2 separate regions of the Homo sapiens genome follow, and region 1 is linked to region 2. Evidence: promoter capture Hi-C in human tissues and cell types (Jung and others, 2019). All regions are on one chromosome and are shown on one strand. Each heading gives the region's core, a stretch centred on a gene start or on the middle of the fragment in contact. The rest is flanking DNA. Distances are from core to core; before and after follow the strand shown.

What was found. The method cuts DNA at HindIII sites, captures the fragments that hold promoters and counts their contacts. A contact is called where the count stands out against the background at its distance.
Region 1: a contact is called between a fragment that was not itself captured here and the fragment with the promoter of TMPRSS7 in region 2, in 1 of the 25 tissues and cell types used here (bladder).

The regions. Positions count from the first base shown.
Region 1 is chr3:111,859,665-111,865,500 of GRCh38, reverse strand. All of the region lies in intron 1 of PHLDB2 (pleckstrin homology like domain family B member 2), which reads right to left. LOC105374040 (a long non-coding RNA gene) reads left to right here and starts at 4,685. Exons shown (of 4, transcript XR_924333.4): 1 at 4,685-4,841. RefSeq lists enhancers at 4,803-4,912, 5,243-5,827, 5,828-5,836 and a silencer at 5,719-5,778. The HindIII fragment of the contact is 7,266 bases long and covers 1-5,697 here.
Region 2 is chr3:112,031,689-112,037,624 of GRCh38, reverse strand. It overlaps TMPRSS7 (transmembrane serine protease 7), which reads right to left and starts at 2,889. Exons shown (of 18, transcript NM_001395507.1): 1 at 2,732-2,889. The coding sequence starts at 2,779. It also overlaps the pseudogene LOC124906250. The HindIII fragment of the contact is 15,104 bases long and covers 1-5,936 here.

The sequences.
Region 1 (5,836 bases), core at 815-3,314, 170 kb after region 2:
CTGGTTAAATAACACAGGAGTGCTCATTACATAATGCAGGAAATGGAAATGACCACAGAACAGAAATAGTTTTAGTGATAAGGTGGCAGCTACCTAATTGGGAAAAGATTTCACCGGACTGTTGCCCATGACATTCCAAAGGCATGGTAAATTGTTTTAGCATAACATAGTGGGAAAAAGGCCTGGTCAGAGTTATGGTAATGTAATATAATATGGGTATTTGATTGAGCATGATGTATAAGAAAGGTTTTGTCTGCATTCCCATGGCTTGCAGTTTCCTTAATAAATCTTAAGCTGTTTTTGAAAAGCTACTTCTGCAATGACGTAAGCAGTGAGGCAGCCAGACATCACTTCTCAATCCCCTCTGAATATCTCTTGGCTGTGCGGCACTATTCACACTGGGTCTGCACTGGTCAAAAGAATGTAGGAGCTGGGTTTCTTTTGCCTTTATCTTTCCTTGTTTTAGCAGTAGGGTGGTCAAGAAAGAAATCTTGGAAAACTCTTGTAATCTTTAACTTTTTTGCTATTTCATAGGCTAGTTCCATGAACATACTGCCATCTAGGGCAGTCACATGCAATGTGCAAACAAAACATTCTAAGATGATCAACACCAATTCCCACTGAATTAGCAGCAAGTCTCAGAAAAAGCTGACCTGGCTTAAGGCCATCGATAAACAGTGGCATACACAATATTTTCTTTCCTTTTACTTTGTAAAGTAAGGAAAAGCACTTCATCTAATAAAATCAACCTAACACACTAAACAAGTATCTCCTGTAAAAATCCTCTCAAAAACTTTTTGACTAACCCTGTTACTCTATATCTTATTAATCTGTTTCTTTGTATAGCAATTACCTACAACCTCTAGTTTCCCACACAACAGTAAAATGATTTTTACACTTGGGTTTCTCTTATTGACCACTAGCTGCTATAGACAACTATCTTGCCTTTAAAGCAGATACAGCACAAAGCTCCTTTTCTGCAATGTCTAAGAAACATCCTTAAGCGTCATGAAAACAACTGTAAGCAAATTAACTCCCAGAAGGTTCAAATTCCTGGATGAACATAGAGAGAAGTTCTGCCTTGCTAAATGTTTACTTTGAAGGGATTTGAAAATCTGAGCTAACAATTTTGGTTTCATTTATTTTTAAAAGACAAGTTACTTTAATCAAATCCCAATAAATATTTCTAGCCAACAGTTATTTTTTTAAAAACTACTCCTGTCTCCTCTCCCATCATCTGAAAAACAGTAACAAGAATGGCCAGATGAAAGATGATAATGAAAAGACTGCTACACCCCTTTTGCATAGTACCTGCGGGGGGGCAGATCCCTTAAAAGGGCTATCACTCTTGAGTCATTTCTAAATATATCACTATGTACTTGGCTTTGAGGTGCACCCTTTGGCTAGTTGTCAAAATGATAAGAAACTATCTTAACACTTTTCAGAGGTTTTATGTCTCCCACCAAAGGCATACTAAAAACTTTCCTATATGGCCAGAACCTGTCAGATTTGAGTATTAGATAAAATAACTACCACAGGAGGACAGCTTGGCACCCAGAACTAGAATCTATAATCATGAGCCTAATGGCTAACCATAGCAATGTAAACAGGAGAGTATACATGTTTGTAATTAATCAGGCTATGGTGTACAACTTTTCTGATAATCATAAACTCATTAAGGTAACTCCTTTCTATAAACAGCCATTCACAAATACCATGCTTTTTAAACTCTCCCAAGTAATTAACAATAACTTTCTTTACTATCATTTTCTTTCCCATTAGGTAAACACATGGAATGGTAGAGACTGTGGGTGCAGGAGAAAGTACAATAGAACAGGAGGCTTGCAGATTCTGCCGCTATCTAACCCAGTTAGTTGGTTGGAGGGAAAAGATTCAGATAAGAGGATTTCTAAGGTTCCTTTTACCCCCATAGTTATTTTGTTCTACATGCTGAAAGAATAGCTAAGCTTGAATTGTCTTCTGATTCTTAATCCTAGTTCTATGCAATTGAATTTATATTAGATATCCCCTCATCAGCTTATGAATTTCTCCCACAATTTCCCCAACACTTGCTCATTTCCATATATGCCAGGTGTCTTTTTTTCTTCCATACTCAGGAGGCCTCTGTAATTCTCCCTTCTGTCCAAGCCAGCCCTATCCATTCATGTACTCTACTCTTAACCGATAAGGCAGGGAGGAACAGAAAATCTCAAATGTTCTGTTTTGTACCTGGATTCAAAAGCAACATCTGCTATGTCTGTGGAACCATCTGTTGCCTACTTTGCCATGGAAAGGACAGTACAGGCATCAGAAGTGGAGTGTCACAGGTCATATAATGGAATTACCCCTTTCTGGGACTGGGGCACCCAGGCACGTGCCCCACAGTCTCTATGGCTAATGCCACCCCTCCCCCATCGAAGCATTTATTTATTTTCTCACAGGGAATGGTGCTTTGAAACTTTTACACAAGGTCAGGTCCAGTGTGTTTTGTTTTTTGTTCCCATTTGCCTGAATCTCTATTTTAAAATTTTTAACTCCTGGGTTGTACCTAGAACTTTGTCTGCCCGCCCTTAGCTCGCTTGAGACCTTATGAGTCCTAAAGCTCTGAGTGTCTCAGTTTTTTACATCTATAAAAAGAAGGGGTAGAAATTAAGTGATCTCTGAGGCTCCCTTGTGCTCTAATGCTCCCAAATCCCATGACTTTAATCCATCTCAAAGTTGTCAATGAACACAAGTTCCTCGACCTCTATGGTATATTAAGACTCTAAATGGCAAGGACAAAAGAATCTGCTGCATACAAAACGGCTTCTATGATAAGGGTCTCTTGTTTAACACAGTTAAACAAGTTTCTTGAGGATCCAAATCAGATTAAGATGCCTAATCTTGTTAACCTACTCCCCCAGGCAATACTGTAGTGCAGGGTTTGGGGCTGCATAATTGTTTTTGTGTCCCGTGCATGGCAGGGTGCTTAACCGCATCCCAGGCCTCTACCCACTATATGGCAGTAGCACTCTCCTCCTGTCAGTTGCTACAACCAAAAATACGTTGCCAGTATCCTCTGGGGGCCAAAACCCCTCTCCCAGTGAAAACCACAGCTCTAATGTATGTCAGGACTTTAAGATAAAGCACATCACTTAGGTGTTTTTGTTTCAAAAGAGTGACATTTACACAATCAACAATTGGTACACCAAGACTTTACAGATAGATTCATAAGGCACAGGTACTCCACCTAGAAAATGTACAAAGCCACTGTCACTCTAAGCCATCCACAGCACCATAGCACTGCCTCCCTGCTAAGGGTTGAAAATCAGGATATAAAGCCATAACGTTAACTACTCCTTTAAAAATATTTAAAAGGAGACCGGGTGTGGTGGCTCATGCCTGTAATCCCAGTACTTTGGGAGGCCAAGGCAGGTGGATCACCTGAGGTTAAGAGTTTGAGACCAGCCTGACCAACATGGCAAAATCCTGTCACTACTAAAAATAGAAAAATTAGCCAGGTGTGGTGGCAGGCGCCTGTAATCCCAGCTACTCGGGAGGCTGAGGCAGGAAAATGGCTTGAACCAAGGAGGCAGAAGTTGTAGTGAGCCGAGGTAACTTCTCCAATGAACTCGAGAGTCAACCCTTGCTTATAGATCTCAAAATGGAGCTTTGAAGAAAATAGGGAAAACCAGAGATTGGTTAATCACTTTGGCTTATTTTTTCCTCTCTTGCATACACAACAAACACACATGGTAAATAAAACGTTTCTGGAAAGGTTGCTAACGAGTTTCAGCTTGGTCACAGTTATTGAACGGAGGAGTAAGCAAGCTCTCAGTCCAATTTCCCAAGTATCTTTTCCTCCCCTTTTCAAACAGGGATCCAGGCGACACTCGTGGCAGACGATCTCAACACCAAAAGAACAGCAGCTGCCAGCTGCATAAAACAGATTGAGGCCTGCAAATTGACTGAAATGATGACTACTCTTAACCAGACATCTCATTTTTCCACTTCTGACAGGCTGAGATCTGCAAACCTCTGGGTCTCAAGAGATGAAGGCTACATTAGCCAACTAAGACGACAAACTCAACTCTTCCTTGTCATTAAATAATTTGCCAGTTATAAATGGTTTGGTAACTTTACAGAATTTAAGTACATGTAATGTTTAAATTTCCCCATTAAATGTAAGAGGCAAAGAAAATCCTTTTAAATAACTAAGCAGAGGATATGAAAGGGGAGCCAAGAATAGACAGAACTGTTACTTTTCAAAGAACCTTCGCTCTTTATTCAAACAAATATTTACACAATTGAAGGCAACGGCAAGAGAGATATAGCCATTCTGTTAAAATAGTGGGCAACTCTAACGGTTTATTTATCCCAAATCCGACAGTTCTGTTGCTAACCTACCAGGAACCAAGAATTCAAGTGTTCACAGGGCAAAAGTTTAACCTTCTGAAACTGTGGACCTCATTTAGATCTCTCCCAGCCGAATTCAAACGTTAGAATCCCAGAGACATATCTCGAACGCCCAAATTAAACCAAACTAGGAAGCTTAAAATTACACGTCCAATACTTGAAAACCTACATCTGTAACTTACACGTTCATATTACGAAGGGAAATGTGGCTGACAAATATTTACACTAAAAAGACTCCACATTTTTATGCCTCGTCTAGTTACACTCCCAGCTGTGCCTGGCTATGACTAGTTGTGCATTCTAGAGCTCTTTAGAGCTACTTCAGAGTTGCAGGATAAAGATTTCTAGGGAAGAGGGCAGGGCCAGGCGCCCGGAGGATTTCCAGCCACGGGTAGTTTACCGAGAGAAAAAGCTGCGGGCGTCGCTCCCTCTTTTACATAAGAAAGGTAAGTGAGGAACCGCGAAGCAGTTTGACTTCTCAAGCTCTTTCAAACAGGAAACCCCAACCCTGGGAGGGACAGCCTGTCAGCCTTTTAATTTCCTGGTGGTGGCGGGAGTTAGCCAGGTCCTCGGCGCTTTAATAAGTGATGACTGCTAGGGCTAAGTTATTAAGCGAACCAGCAAACGATTCAGCTGCGCCTCCGCCGCGCAGGGAGCTGGAGAAACAGAGGGTTAAAATACTCCCCAAGCCTTCCAGCTGCTATCTCTAGGGGTGCCGAGACGGCCACACTGTAAACTTTCAGTGGGGGGTCAAAGGCCAAATCGAAATCAGCCGCTTTTGGCGGTTAAAGCTCGTAGGTTCACTCTTGAAAGAAAGTGGAACTAGAAGCGCAGCTAGCCAAATATTTGCGGGGAGGGAGTCTTCTCTGAATCCCGCGCCCTACACCATCCAGCAGCGGACCTTCTCTTTCTCAGGGAGCTATCCCAAGGATCCCCATCCCTCTCTCCATGTGCATTCCAGAGTTGCTGGAAAAAGTTGCCCCCAGTTCCCCCACATTCTGCCTGTTTTCTACAATCACTCTGGAAGCATCTTCCCTACCAGACACTCCCTCCCCGGGATCCCCTCAACCGGAGATCTACCCAGCCCCCCGAGAGTCATGCACAACGGGGTTCGCCACCCCCACCCACCCAGCTGCGCAGCCTGGGCACTGCCGACCCCAGCCCGGGCTTTTGTCCCTACAGCCTGTAAAGAAGCAAAGAAACTCTGTGTCCCCGGAGCCCACTCACCGTCTCATCTTTCCTCCAAACCGCCGCTCTACGCTGGCGCCGCCGCCCTAGCGCCTAGCCTTTGCCCCCGCCCACCCTGTCTCCCTCCGTGAGCCCGCCGGCCCCTCCTGACTCGCGGTGAGCAGTCAGCGCGCCCCTCCTCGGCCCGGGCAGCCACTGCCTCCTCTCCGCCCCCAACCCTCCGCAGCGCAACCGGCGGCAACCAACTCGGCCG
Region 2 (5,936 bases), core at 1,640-4,139:
GTAGTGTATGAATAGGGTGTGGGCCACAGAGATCACGTGCTTCAAAGGCAATAAAATATCACAAGGCAGAAGGTCAGAGCAAGATCACAAGGTCAGGGTGAAACTAGCATTGCTAATGAAGGTCCACATCCTGCTGGGCACACATTGTCATTGATAAACATCTTAGCAGGAAACAGGGTTCAAGAGCAGAGAACTGGTCTGACTAGAATTCGCCAACCTGGAATTTCCTAATCCTAGCAAGCCTGGGGGTGCTGCAGGAGACTAGGGTGTGTTTCATCCCTTATCTGCAACTGCATAAGGCAGACACTCCTAGACGGCCATTTTAGAGGTCTCTTCCTGGGAATGCTTTCTTTTCCCAGGGCTGTTAATTATTAATATTCCTTACTGGGGAAAGAATTTAGCGATATTTCTCTTACCCATTTTTGGCAATAAGAGAAATATGGCTCTGTCCTGCATGGCAGTCAGACCCAATGGTTATCTCCCTTGTTCCCTGAACATTGCTGTTATCCTGTTCTTTTTTCAAGGTGCCCAGATTTCATATTGTTCAAACACACATGCTTTACGAACAATTTGTGCAGTTAACGCAATCATCACAGGGTCCTGAGGCTACATACATCCTCAGTTTACAAAGATGACGGGATTAAGAGATTAAAGTAAAGACAGTCATAGGAAATTATGAGAGTATTGATTGGGGAAATGATAAATGTCCATGAACTCTTCACAATTTATGTTCAGAGACTGCAGTAAAGACAGGCGTAAGAAATTATGAAAGTATTAATTTAGGGAACCAATAAATGTCCGTGAAATCTTCACAATTTATGTTCTTCTGCCATGGCTTCAGCAATTCCCTCCATTCAGGGTCGCTGACTTCCCGCAACAGTTTCTAGGTTCTTTCCTCAACTCTCCAACTCTGTTGAATAGATGCTGTGGAGGAGAGGCCTGAATTTCATGGGGTAAAGTAGATTAGAGGACTTGAAGGTTAGGAGGTTAAGGTTAAGATTCTATGTGGGTAGAATCATGTGTGTACACAGCCCCTCCCCCCTCCTTTTTTTTTTTTTGACAGAGTTTTGCTCTTATTGACCAGGCTGGAGTGCAATGGAGTGATCTTGGCTCACTGCAACCTCTGCCTCATGGGTTCCAGCGATTCCCCTGCCTCAGCATCCCAAGTAGCTGGGATTACAGGCACTCACCACCACACCTGGCTAATTCTGTATTTGTAGTAGAGATGCGGTTTCACCATGTTGGTCAGGTTGGTCTTGAACTCTTGACCTCAGGTGATCCACCCACCTTGGCCTCCCAAAGTGCTGGGATTCCAGGTGTGAGCCACTATGCCTGTCCACAGTCCTTTTAGTATATGTGTGTGTTTCACATGTTTGTATTATATTGTTTTTCTCTCACAATCAATTATTTCTGGGCTGATGCAGGATTGAAAATAAGAAGATAAGTGAGTTCCCCACAGAAATGAATTGATTTCCTAGTTACAGCTTCATGACTGGGTGGTAGGAAGGAAAAGTAAAGGTGATATGATAATTTGCATAGATTGTACAAATTTGTGCAATTTGTAACTGCACAAATTGTTCGTAAAGCATGTGTGTTTACATACGGTTGTAGGGTTGTGGGTTTATAGGAATTAAATATGTTTGTTTTGCCATTGCCAGCCGCTGCCATTGCCAGCCACAGTTTCTCAATTATAAATGAAATAATTATTTAAAAGTAAATGGAAGAATGAAATAGAACACTCATTAGATTAGAAAATTGTTGGTTTAAGTGTATTGATGTGCATAGTGTTATGTGCAAGAGTAAAAAATACATTATTTAATTGTTTCCCTTCCTCCTCTTTTATTTTCTTGTCTACCCTCTGCTATTTGATGCTGTGAATTCTTTAATAATGTATTCAAGAGTTTAGCTTCATTTAAGGAGAGATTTATACAAGTCAGGGTAACTAAACTCCAGAGACGAAATAGCTTTTAACCACACATTCTTTTAAAGGCAACAATATGGAATGCCAATGCCAAAGAAATAATCTCTCTTTTGCACTGTCCTTAAGAGTTCTCTCCTTCTCTTTTCCTCTCCCTCACTCTTCTCTTCAAAATTCATGCCCTCCAGTCTTTAATCTTGCCAATTAATGGGATAATACGTGGCCACGTACACTCTGAATTATTCATGGCCCCTTCATTCTTTTTGCCAAACACCTTGTCAACCCCTGGAGTGAAGTGTTGCTTGTATCCTTTCTGGTGAAATTGAACTAGACCAGACATCATTTAATGTGGTGTCCTGCAGGAATGAGGACTGGGTTTCTAAAGAGAGAAACATTCCATTGTAGAATGAGTTGTCGATGGTATCAAGCTACTTTCAAGTGCTCCCCCAAAAGAAATAAAGAAACACGCAGAAATGCCAGTACATGTTGAACTGACAAAGCCAAGTTTGGATCTTTTAAGTGCAGAAACACATTATAGGCAGTCTCAGTTAGCACTGATTAAATTTTAAAATGGAATTTGTGTAGAGATCAGTACAATTTCCCTGGAGTTTTAGAAAAACGGCTACAAATCAATTGCCAAGTACAGCACTTTATAATAAGCTCACATTTGTAAAACCCATTAATTACCATAAGAAGATAAAATATTTTATTATTGTTTCCTTTATGTTTATAAGGTCATACAATCTCATTTTACTAACAGGGTCAACAATAAATGGCATTCAAGTAAGAGAAAGTTTCTCACCCTGTACTTACTTTCAGGTCAGCAGGTGCGGCTGAAACATCGCTGTTTTCTTTGTCCATTATTAGGCGTTTTGTGTGTGATCATCCAGGGGTGTCTCAAAGCCAGTTTTTGCCCCTTATATGCTCTCTTGAGAAGAATTGAGAGAACCGTCACCGCATTCAAGCTAGCTTTCAGAGGAGTGGAATCAATTTACCTCCACCGGGTTCAGTTCAGAAACTGAAGCCGCCTCATTGCTATATTGTAAATGTTAAAGGGACCTAGCACTCAGCTTTGCACCCCAAACTCAAGGATTCTCAATGTAACTTTCATAGGAGTCAGGCCTCTCAGAGTACAGCCAGCCTCAAGGCAAGGTTTTCTTATAAGAAACACAATCCTACAATCCAGTAACATTTAAAAATCATTATAATTTTTTTCTTGCATCTCCTAAAGAATATGAAGAGGTCTAATTTACAACCCTCAGCACCACATCTGAGAAGTCCTCACACCTCATTTCTCTTGCGTGGCATCTCTTGCCTGCTCCAGGAGACTCACTCTTCAGTCCTGCTCTCAACTCTCCAGCCATACTCTCTGAGAACTCATAATCCAAAGGGACTTTTTTCCATTTAGCTCCCCCTACTTCTTGCAGTCAGTCCTCAGTAAACCTGGGGCCCTTTCTGCTGTAAAGCCCCTGTTTCCATCTCTCCCATACTTCCCAATGTCAATCTGAATTAGATCCATGGTGGGAAGAATAATCCAATCCTGAGGGGCAGTGTCAGAATTTCTCTTAGCAGACGGGGAGAAAAAGGCAGGGATTGCTGGAACCTCATCACCCTGTGGGCACTGGGTGTCAACAGAAAGCTGATCTGTCACGCTTTAAAGGAGAAACACTGTTCTGCTGATCCAGACACAAACTTCAGCATCATTCACGGGCTGTGCATATGGCAAGTGAGAAACTGCCTGCTGAAAGTGGGGAAAGATTAGTTGAGTTGCTTCATACCTGAAATTTGATCTAACTTGGGGAAGATGAGACAGAATAACAAAAAAAAAAAAAAAAAAAAAAAAAGAATTAAGTCATGTACAAATTCGCCTCTTGGGTTTTGTTATTTATTATTCACATTGATGAAATTATTAATAATGGTTTAGACTTTATAATATTACTTTTAATGGCTCATCTTTCCAGTATTATTTCTCTACCTATTTCTAGAACTAACTCATATTTCACCAATATAAGTAAAATTTGTATACTTATCGGTGGCCATTGACAAAGACTCTCTTCTTGACCAAAGTGTTGTCAGGTTACTCTGAGCTCTCTTTTCAACTAGACCTTGTCCTTGGGCCTTGTCTTTGGCCCATCTGGTCAGTTTAGCAGGAATCCCCCCGCCTTGATATCTGATCACCCTTGATTTTGCTTTCTTTTTCTTTTCTTTCTTTCTTTCTTTCTTTTTTTTTTTTTTTTTTTTTTTGATTCAAGAGTGGCCTTGAAATACCCTTGATATCTGATCAAGTTCTTTATCCCCTACCCTTGATATGTAAGTCCTTGGCTGCCTGTAACAAGAATCCTGATTGGTCAGTTTAGCAAGGATGCCCCTTGGTGTTTCCCCTTAGTAATTTTCCAACCATGGACCCCCTCACTCTCTTCATTGACTACTAATCCCCAGCTTTCTTTGCTGTATTTGGAACTGAGTTCAGCTCTATATCGAATTCACTTTCTCCCGTTGCAACAGTGCTGAAGAAAATCTGTCTTTACAGCCTTTAACTAGTGTCCCCCCATCCTTTTTTCCCTTTCACACCACCAAGTGTGAAAAGTGGCAGCAAAATATCAGGAGGCTGTGTTAAATGTACCAAATTTAAAAGCAATCATAAAACCAACCAAAGGCTGCTTTTTCACTATCATCATGCCAGCAATTCTAAATAATGTCAGTGACAAAATACTCCTCTCTAAAAAAAAAAAAAAAAAAAAAATTGCCATGAGTTCTAAACAATCACTGCCACTACAACTGTTTGAATAATACTTATTTAAGTGTATAATGAGCAATTCCTATTATTCATTTTTTAGTAAGTGATGAATGTCATGCAGAAATTAATTTGGAAATCTCCCAACTGTAAAGTTGGTCTCAAACATGTTGTGGGTAACAACTATCTGGGGCCAGTGGTGCAGGTGGTAAAGGAATTTCCCAAGACAGTTGTAGGTAAAGAAAGGTAGATTTATTAGAGAAAGTAAGAAAATACATTGCAAGAGAGCAACAGGCAGATCAGCAAGAGAGGAGCTGGCTGCGAGGAGACAAAGGCTGGCTCGGGATTTTACAGGATGGTGCTTGTGCTCAAGAGGGCCACGTGGAGTGCTGATAATGCCAAGGTCACAATGAGCTAACTTGCATTTTTCTATCAGTCAAGGGTCTGGTGATTAGTCGGGTGCAGGAAGATTGTGAGTTATTTGAGTTACTTGTGCAGGAGGGCTACATGTCTTGGACCATGAAGAAAGGCAGACTTACAGCTCATTTGCTTTCTTCTTTTTGCTTTCCCCTGCTTCCACCAGCCCGACTCCTTTTCCCTAATTAGGACTCCACAGAATACAAGATGACTGTGACACATGTTCATTTCAAGAGTAAGCTTCTAATGGTCTGGAATCATTTGCACATACTTAGGGCAGAGTCCTTGCCTCCAGCAATCCCTGTGGGATTACATATTGCTGCATTTAAAGGGAAGGTTCAAAACAAGCAATAATAGCACAATGATTGTAAAGACCAAGAAACAGAATTTCAGTTATTTCATTTGTCCTTCTATGTGACCAATGAGTTAATTTATATTTAAAATTTAATACAGTTACAGGGTATGAATTGCAAGGTGTAATATTTTTATATGTAATATTCTGTATGCAGTATGTATTTTGTTAATTTTATTTTTGCTAGCATAATTATATATACAAAGTTGACTAAAATTTTTCACTTTTTTTCTCATCAATATTATTATTAGTTTTATTTCATGATTCCTCCTGAAAACAATTTTACTGTATAGGAGAAGAGATTGTTGAGAAATGATCCACTCCAAGGAGAAGCAGCCCCTGAGTAGCTGGGCAGCTTCTGTAGGGTCAACAGTGTGAAGGACCTACCACAGGGTGTCGTTGGCACCGCCTGGTAACTGGTGATTCCATCGGCCAGCAGAGCTCATACCCACATTCCCAGATTAGTCCACGGGGTCCAGGTACTACCTCGACTGTGGCTCTTCCAGATGCATGGA